2 separate regions of the Homo sapiens genome follow, and region 1 is linked to region 2. Evidence: promoter capture Hi-C in 16 types of primary human blood cells and fetal thymus (Javierre and others, 2016). All regions are on one chromosome and are shown on one strand. Each heading gives the region's core, a stretch centred on a gene start or on the middle of the fragment in contact. The rest is flanking DNA. Distances are from core to core; before and after follow the strand shown. Region 1 has its middle 29 kb from the start of PSEN2. Region 2 holds the start of STUM (stum, mechanosensory transduction mediator homolog).

Region 1 (4,846 bases), core at 1,941-4,440, 290 kb after region 2:
GGATGAAGAATCCCATCAGATATTGAAAGTGACTGGATATGGAGGGTGGGAGGTTCTGGCTAAGCTGATTTAGCATCTTGTTAAAACTGGATTTTACAAGAAGGTGCACAGATGGGCCTAGGAGAAGTTTCAGGAGTCTGACTAACATTTGGCCAAGCATAGAATCTTTGTCACTACCAACTGATATATATCTGCAACCCTGCTGGTAAAAATGTCAAAAGCACATTCTCTTCAATATCTTTACTAGTGGCAAATCTTTGTTCTGGGGTGGATTGGATGTTTTGAAACAGCCAAAAGTTATTTAGAACCAACTGCTCTGAATTAAGAAAACTGAGCTGATTTCCCTCATGTGGATCATATGCTGACTCTGACAGCAATTTGAACAGAAGAAATCCAAAAAGGGTTCTAAGAAAGGCACTGGGCAGTGTCTTCCATGGTGATTAAATAGAGGGTGGATCACTTGAGGTTAGGAGTTTGAGATCAGCCTGGCCAACATGGTGAAGCCCTGTCTCTACTAAAAAAAACCCACAAAAATTAGCCAAGTGTGGTGGCAAGTGCCTGTAATCCTAGCTACTCGGGAGGCTGAGGCTTGAGAATCACTTTAACCCAGGAGGCGGAGGTTGTAGTGAGCAGAGATTATGCCACTGCATTCCAGACTGGGCGACAGACTGGGACTCTTTCTCAAAAAAAAAAAAAAAAAAAAAGGCAAGTAGCTACATGTCACGATCTTTCAGTTTTATCTCAGTGGCATACTATGCAGCATTTACAAAGCCCAGGTAATTCTGATTTCTCAGCTCTAAACACCCTCAGATAAGTGCTATGCAGCTCTATGGAAGACTAACTAACTGCCTGGCATTTTTTTTTTTTTTTTGAGACCTAGTTTTGCTCTTGTTGCCCAGGCTGGAGTGCAATGGCACGATCTTGGCTCACCACAACCTCCACCTCCCAGGTTCAAGCAATTCTCCTGACTCAGCCTCCCAAGTAGCTGGGATTACAGGCATGTGACACCACGCCCGGCTAATTTTTGTATTTTTAGTAGAGACGGGGTTTCTCCATGTTGTTCAGGCTGGTCTCAAACTCCCGACCTCAGGTGATCCGCCTGCCTCGGCCTTCTAAAGTGCTGGAATTACAGGAGTGAGCCACCGCACCTGGCCCTGGTAGTTTTTTGAATTTGAAGATGTTGCTGTTGCTGATGGGAATTGTCATATAGGCCTGGCTTTGAAGACTCTGAGACACCAATATTCTCTTCAACTTGTGCCAAGGCTAGCTGTTCTTTAGCTGGAGGATAAAGCAGAGGTACCACCAAGCCTGGCACTTAACCCCGTAAGTCAGCCACTTCATATTGCAAAAATTTCCAACTACTCCCAGGTCCACATGTCTGATACCAGAGACCAAAGCCAATCACCCAACAATCATTTCCCCCAGGGTTAATACTTATCAAATGTATAACACTTCATATGTCTCACAGGATGGTTATACTATTCCAGCAAGAGCAATTTCCTATTCTTTCAGGTGACTATTTCTGCTTTACCTTCTTTTGAATATTTCAAGAACTTTAATTTCAAGGGAACTGGCTGGGTGCAGTGGCTCACGCTTGTAATCTCAGTGCTTTAGGAGTCTGAGGCAGGAGGATCACTTGAGGCACAGGAGTTCCAGACCTCGTCTCTACAAAAAAATTTTAAAAATCAAAAAATTAGCCAGGCATGGTGGCATGCAGCTGTAGTCCCAGCTACTCAGGAGGCTGAGCTGGGAGGTGGGAGGATCGCTTGAGCAAGGAAGTTGAGGCTGCAGTGAGCTATGATTGTGCTACTACTGCACTCCAACCTGGGCAACAAAGCCAGACCCTGTCTCAAAAAGAAATTTTTTTTTCAAGGAAACAGGCCAATTTCAAGCTGTATTAATCTGAAAATGAGGCCACTTAGAGAAAGACAGTCATATGCAGAAAAAGGACAAGCACTCTGCTGGGGGCAGATAGACCCCCTCTATAACTCCCACCAAGAAGGGATGTCTCACGCTTTGCTACCTCTTCTTTTCCCTTGGCCAGAAGAAGCAGTCACCTGAGCAGGGAGCTCAAGGGAGGGAATTTAGATGTGAAAAGAAAGCCTTTCCTCTGTGTGACTGGAAGCAGGCCTTCTCTCCTCCAAACAAATTCTGGATGGAATACAGAGAAATACAGAATATATATATATATATACACACATATTTTTTTTCCAAATTTCTTTTTTCTTTTTTTTTTTTTGAGATGGAGTCTCACTCTTGTTGCTCAGGCTGGAGTGCAATGGCGCGATCTCGGCTCACCGTAACCTCTGCCTCCCGAGTTCAAGCGATTCTCCTGCCTCAGCCCCCCGAGTAGCTGGGATTACAGGTTCCAGCTAATTTTTTGTATTTTTAGTAGAAACGGTGTTTCACAATGTTGGCCAGGCTGGTGTCAAACTCTTGATCTCAGGTGATCCACCTGCCTCAGCCTCCCAAAGTGCTGGGATTACAGGCATGAGCCACTGCACCTGGCCTTTTTCCCAAATTTCTAGCTGGGCAAAATCTCTTTAAGCTTAAATTACACGGAGAAAAATACCAAGGAAAAGACAACATAAACATTTTTAAAATCTTTATTATTTATTTTAAGATATCCTATGTTTACAATGGTCAAGAAAAGAGGAGATAAAATACGTAGTTAAATGTATCGTATTTTTTCATCTTTAAGTAGAACTTACTTTTCAGTTGTTGGGATGTCCATCACAAATATAAGTATGCACCTGTATACTTACGCATTATTATACAGTAAATTAAAATTTACATGCAGTGAAACACACAGCTGTATGTTGAATATACAAGATACATTTGGATTTGGATAAGTGTATACACCCACATAACCACCACCCAGACAAAATATATTCTGTCATCTGGAAAGTTTCCCAGTATTCCCTTTCAGTTAATCTTTATCCCCCCAGAGGAAACCACTGTTCTGATTTCTATCTTGTAGATTAACTTTCCCTGTTCTTAAACTTCATATAAATGAAACCACACAGTAGACATACTTTTGTGGCTGTCTTTTATATATATATATATATACACACACACACACACACACACATATATACACATATACATATATACACATATACACATATATACACATATATACACATATACACATATATACACATATACACACACATATATATACACATATACACACATATATACACACATATACACATATATACACATACACACACATATATACACATATATATACACACACACACATATATATATATATATTTTTTTTTTTTAAGAGACAGGGTCTCACTCTGTCACCAGTGATCACAGCTCATTGTAACCTTGAACAACTGGGCTCAAGTGATCCTCCTACCTCTGCACCTGGACCACAGGCGCATGCCACCACACTGGGTTAATTTTTTTCTTAATTATTATTATTTTGAAATGAGTCTCAGTCTTACTTTGTTGCCCAGGCTGGAGTGTGATGGTGCAATTCTAGCTCACTGCATCCTCTGCTTCCTAGGTTCAAGCGATTCTCCTGCCTTAGCCTCCTGAGTAGCTGGGATTACAGGCACCCACCACCACACCCAGCTAATTTTTGTATTTTTTAGAAGAGACGGAGTTTCATCATGTCGGCCAGGCTGGTCTCGAACTCCCGACCTCAAGGGATCCACCCACCTCAGCCTCCCAAACTGCTGGGATTACAGGTATGAGCCACCATGCCCGGCCTACTTTTCCATTTTTAATTTTATGTTTACTGCTTTTCTTGTGACTGCTCTGAGAAAATTTGTCCTATTCCAAAGTTATGAGAATATTCATCTAAATTTGTTCTAGAAGCTTTATAGTGTTAGCATTTAGATTTATGAAATAGGGGGGCAAGGTTTATTTTTTCCCGTACATTGATTCAATAGTTCCAGCACCATATTTGTTAATGAGACTTCCTCTCCCTATTGAATTATCTTGATATCTTTGTCAGAACTCAAGTGACCATCTATCTATGGACCCTCTTTTTTTTTTCTTTTTTGAGACAGAGTCTCGCTTTGTGGCCCAGGCTGGAGTGCAGTGGCACGATCTTGGCTCACTGCAACCTCCACCTCCCAGGTTCAAGCAATTCTCCTGCCTCAGCCTCGCGAGTAGCTGGGACTACAGGCGCGTGCCACCATGCCCGGCTAATTTTTTGTATTTTTAGTAGAGACGGGGTTTTACAATGTTGGCCAGGATGGTCTTGATCTCCTGACCTTGTGATTCCCCAAGCCCTGGCCTCCCAAAGTGCTGGGATTACAGCTGTGAGCCACTGCACCAGGCCTTGTAGAAATCTTAAAATCAGGTTCTGGCCAGGCAGTGTTGAATAGGAGCAAGAATAGACATTCTTGCATTTTTCCCGATCTAAGAGGAAAGCATTCAGTATTTCACCAGTAAGTATGATACATAGCCTTTATCAGAATAAGAAAATTATCTTATATTCCTGCATTTCTGAGAATTATTATGAATGAATATTGAATTTTGTCAAATGTTTTTCTGACATCTACTGAGATGATCATATGGTTTTTCATTATTCCATTCATAATTATATTGATTGATTTCCAGTATGAAATCAACCTTGCACTCCTAGGATAAACTCCTTTTGGACTTGAGGTATTGTTCTTTTTATATATTGCTGGATTCAAGTTGCTAATATTTTGTTAAAGATTGGTATGTCCATGTTCATGAGGAATATTGGTATGTAATTTTCTTTTCTTCTGGCATCTTTGTTCTATTTTGATTTCAAGACAGTTTTTTGCTGTTCTCATCAAACAAATTGGAAACTATTCCTTCCTGTTTCACTTTCTGAAAGAGTTTGTATAAG
Region 2 (4,951 bases), core at 2,040-4,539:
TTCCTTGATTCTCGATTTGACTCAATATCCAACTTTTATCAAGACAATTATCTATGCTGGCCATTTATCAATGAGTCCCCGCTACCTCTCGGATGTGTTCAGACCCTTCAAACTCATTTCCTCCTTGTCTGCTATTAATACCCAGTTTTCATTTGGGAACTGTCCCTACCCCATTCTCAGTCCTTTTCAGTCAGGAAGAGTCCTCCTCCCCCTCAGCCTCTATATAAGCATGTGACCTGATTTTATCCCCTCCAGCCCATCTTCCACACTGTGAACAAATATATCTCATAATGGTGGTGGTTTTAAAGCCTAGGCCCAAGTCTTTGACACCCCTCCATAGAGAGGCGGGGTGTCCCCCATGAAATCTGGGCAGGCTTGTGACTGCATCGACCAGTAAAGCCCTGCAGAAGTGACACTGTGTGACTTCCAAAGTTAGGGCAGAAAAGTCCAAGTCCACACAGCTTCCACTGGTCCTGCAATGTTCATTCTCTGGGGGCCTCCTCTCAGGAAATTCCCTCTCAGAAGCCAGCTGTCATAGTGTGAAAAGTCCAAGTCACGTGGGGAGGCCATGTGTAGGCGCTTTGCTGACCCATCCTAGTTGACCCAGCTTTCAAGTTACCCCAGTCCAGGCAGGCTGAGATTCCTGAGAATCTTCTCAGAAGTGGATCCTCTAGCCCCAGCTGTTCCAGCTATCAGCCATTTCAGTCTCCCGAGCTGAGGCTCCAGATACAAGGAGCAAAGAAGAATTATCTTGGTGTGCTCTGTCCAAGCTCCTGACCACAGAATTTGTGATCAGAAAAAAATGGTTGTGTTAAGCTGCTAAATTTGGGGGTAATTTGTGACACAGTGATAGTAACTGGAACACTTATGCCACACCCCTGCTTAAAATGTTCCAGTGATTCTGCATCACCACCACCGAGATGAAGTCCAAATTCCTTTGCCATTCAGTACTAGATGCCTGTCCACCCCACCAGATCCATCTCCTGTCTCTGCCCACACAAGCCCTAGTGCCAGCCACACTGCAATTCCTGGAATCATCCCTACTTCCCTGGGCTCCCATGCCTTTGTATATTTTGTTGCTCTGCCTGGATGTCTTTCTGACATCCAAGATATTCAGCAAATCATCTGGAAAACTGGGGGATGCAAATCCACTGACGTCCCTGAAATCCTTTTTCTCCAGGAGGAATGATTGACTGGCCCTAAGACAGTTCAAGTGCTCTGCAAAAGAATATTCACAGAATGTGGGTTATTTTCTAGGTCTCTGAATAAAATACTGGTTATATAGAATTGATTCTGGAGCCAGATTGCCTGCATTCAGCTGCCAGCTCTACCACTGATTAGTGGGGGACTTTGTGCAGCCTGTTTAACTTCTCTGTGCTTCAATTGCCCCATCTGTAAAATGGGGTAATAAATAATCCTTACTTTGTAGAGTTATGGTAAGGATTAAAAGAGTTAAAATGTGTAAAGGGTTTTTAGAATGATGCCTGGCAGAGAGTGCTTGGGTAAATAAGTGTTTGTTGAAAATAAAACAAATCTGCAAATAGTTAACTGTAGTCATTGCTCAAGTCCCTTTGAGTATCGCCTTCTTTGGGACACCTCCCCGAGGCCTCCCCCACGCTAGCTGGCTTCACAGATAGGTCCATGTTGTCGCAGCACCTCCAGCACATCACAGCTGCAACATTCCTCACTGTTTCTGTAAGTCTATCTTTGTAGTTGTCAGTATCTCTCAGCTCATTTCTTAGATTCTTGAAGGCAGAGGCTGGATTTTACTCATTTCTCTCTCCCTGGAATCTAAGTCTTAGTAGGCCTTCAATAATTGTGTATTAAATGGAAGCTTGCTATGATTTTAACCAACACAGTAACTCCAGGCCAGAAAAGGCTAAGCGAGTTCTTCTAAGCCATACAGGTTTTAGTGGCTGAACAAAGACTAAAATTTTTAACCCTGTTCTTCTGACTGCCAAACCTAAGCTAATGACTCGTGTGTGTGTGTATCTGTGTATGTGTACACACGCATGTGTGTGTCCACCAGTATCATCACTAACCCCTGGCCATTTGCTTTTAAAATTATTTTATTCAGAGACTTATACAATAAGTATAAGTATACAATAACCCATGTTCTTTTAGCCTCTTCTGAGACCCTGGGTTGTTTATAATAATAATCACTATTATTCCTGAAGGGAGGCTATTGCACCCTTCCAATTATTCAGACGATTTGCTGACTGTCTGGATAATTCCGAAGCCTTTAACCCCTCCCTAACGTTAGAGGCGGTAACTTTCATCCGTTTACTTTTTCCAGGTGCGGAGGCGAAGCAGCCTTATTCAGAAAATCGAATTCAAACAGGACCTCAAGCTGCCGGCTGTTGCTTCTACCAACTGCCCCATTATTAACGCCAGACGGCGCTGTGTCCTCACTGGCTCTTTAACCACCACGTCGGGCTCACAGAAGGCTCAGGTTTCCTCCAGTATAGTTCAGGGGATGGTGAACGCTTCCCAACAAGCCTGCAACAGGCGCATTTCTTTCTGCTTTTGGTGCGTGTGTGTAGGGAAGTGTCCCATCTTTTAACTAGTCTTGCGGAGACCTGGCCTGGTGTTTGCAAATCTGTTTCCTCTATTATCGATCCGATCTCTGGATTGCTTTTTCTCTGACACTTGAAACAAATTCACTCCTATATATTTTTTAAGTGATTTTTTTTTTTTTTTTTTTTTTTTACAAAATAGAGCTGGGGCGGGGGGGGGGGGGTCTCGCTACGTTGCCCAGGCTGGTTTCGAACTCCTGGGCACAAGTAATTCTCCCACCTTGGCCTCCCAAAGTGGGGAATACAGACGGGAGCCACTGCGCTCGCCCCAAACAAAATCATTTAAATCACAATGCACTGAAGGCCGACTAGGTGTCAGGCGCCGCGCGGTCCGTCCCTTGTCCCCATGTCCCTGGCCAAAGGCTTGCTCTAGATCAGGGGACTCAGCCTCGAGGCTTTCCCGACGGTGTCAGCCAAGCACACACTCCCAGTTCGCAGGGCTTCGTGGTCAAGGTTCCTAGTTCACCTGTCTGGGAGGGCGAGGTGTGTCCACCCCTTCCAGCACCTGGGCAAACAGCTCCCTTTGCGGTCCTCTTCCACTGCTTTCCCTCCGCCCTGATTTTCCATTCCTTGTGAGCGGTGGTTTTGGTTGGGGGGAGGGGGCGGGGAAGGGGCCTGGCGAGGAGGGGCGTCAGAGCGCTGTCACCGGGTGTCGCGCCGCCCTCCCCGCCCCTCCGCCGGGCGTGTGGGGACGCCGGAGGGCGGGAGTCTCCGCGAGCCGCGCGGCGCACGGAGCACGGCGGCCGCCTGAGCTCGGCGCGGAGCCCGGAGCCCGCAGCCGACAGTCTCCTGCTCCCGTACGCTGGGCGCCAGCTCCGGCCGTGCTGCCCGGCTGCCTGAGAGCGCGCCCGGCCATGGAGCCCTCGCACAAAGACGCCGAGACGGCGGCGGCGGCGGCGGCGGTGGCGGCGGCGGACCCCCGGGGGGCGTCCTCGTCCAGCGGGGTGGTGGTGCAGGTCCGCGAGAAGAAGGGCCCCCTGCGCGCCGCCATCCCCTACATGCCCTTCCCCGTGGCCGTCATCTGCCTCTTCCTCAACACTTTCGTGCCGGGACTGGGTAAGACACGGCTGCCGCGACCCTTGCGACCCCCACCCCGCCGCGGGAGGGCGTGGGGGGAGAGAAGGGCGCGGCCGGAGACCTCCTGGCGGGGCCGCGCGCTCCAAGTGCTGCGACCACGCGCCACCGCCCGCTCCTGGCGTCCCCGGGCAGGTGGCAGAAGCGCGTGGAGTGTGCACCCCAGAGGGGAGAGGCTGCGCTGGGGTCTCCGACCCGCAGGCGGGGCCCCAAAGAGCCGGAAACTTTGCGGCCAATGTTGGAGCCCGCAGCGGCGGCCGGAATGGCTCTGCCGGCTTCGGAGTAGGGCTCCCGTCCCGGCGCCCCGATTTCTGCTCCTTCTCTCCGTCGTGTGCATCCGTCCGCGAGCCCACTTCCCCGAGAGGAATGGGGTCGGATCAGAATGAGCTCTAGGGCCTCGGCGGCGAGGATCAAACTCCCGGGCGTCGAAGTCAGCTGAGCCGGGGAAAGAGGACGAGCCGGGCTAGATATACCTGCAGCCCCCTTTGGTTCGCGGAGTGCGGACCGCGTGGGGACGAGAACTCTAGCCAGAGTCTCCTCCGCCTCATTCAGGGGTACCTGCACTTCCGCCAGCACCCCGCAGGGCGCCAGGGGGATGGGGGATGATTTTATTAGTTTGGATGCATGTGGCCAGAGATGAACCCATAGCTCCCTCGGATCCCTTCTGTTCCTGAGAAGTAGAGAGTGCGCCGATGTAATTCTGTGCAGGACTCCGGCAGCCGGCAGGGGTTCTGGTGGCATCTATGTCCCACGTTTTAAAGCAGAGGCCCCTTACAGAGATGGTGCAGGAGGGTGAATGGAGGCAGGGAATGAGAAGTTTTCCTGACCCTCCCTCCCTTAACTCCACCCCCAGGTCTCTGCCTGCACGCCCCTCCCCTCCTCCAGCTTGGCACTGGCTGCTCCTGCGTGCTGGGAGGTGCCCCCCTCTCCCGTGCCCGCCCGAAGAACCAGGCGCCCCAGTGCCCTCTCCGGGAGAAAGCGTGCCCCTGTCGGCGAGCCTGTTGCCAACGTATGGTTCCAAGTTCCCAAGAGCAGAGGCCAGCTGGAAGGGGTTTTCAGTTTGACTTTGGCCTTTCTCACGGTCTCCTCGCTCTTCGCCTGCTTAGCAGGGGCCTCTGCTGCGGTGACAGCCAAGGCCACAGCCACCCACGCAGGACCCGTTCACTTTCCCCTCCGAGCTTACTTGTCTTTCTACCCTAAGGGGCTGCTGCGGCCAGAGCAGCCTATCTGAGCAGTAAGTTAGGTGGCCTTTAGTTGGGCTTCTCTCTTCTGGGGTGCCTCCAGCAGCCTGTCCCCCTGGC

The links. Contacts are between HindIII fragments. The CHiCAGO score rates a contact against its expected background, and 5 or more counts as called.
Region 1: a fragment that was not itself captured here is called in contact with the fragment with the promoter of STUM in region 2 in 2 of 17 cell types (M1 macrophages and M2 macrophages); the score reaches 6.7 in M1 macrophages.

The regions. Positions count from the first base shown.
Region 1 is chr1:226,838,942-226,843,787 of GRCh38, forward strand. No RefSeq gene overlaps it. Among named protein-coding and RNA genes, the nearest start is that of PSEN2, 29 kb to the right of the region's middle. The HindIII fragment of the contact is 1,289 bases long and covers 2,547-3,835 here.
Region 2 is chr1:226,545,475-226,550,425 of GRCh38, forward strand. It overlaps STUM (stum, mechanosensory transduction mediator homolog), which reads left to right and starts at 3,290. Exons shown (of 4, transcript NM_001003665.4): 1 at 3,290-3,632. The coding sequence starts at 3,431. RefSeq lists a silencer at 2,274-2,568. The HindIII fragment of the contact is 11,252 bases long and covers 1,833-4,951 here.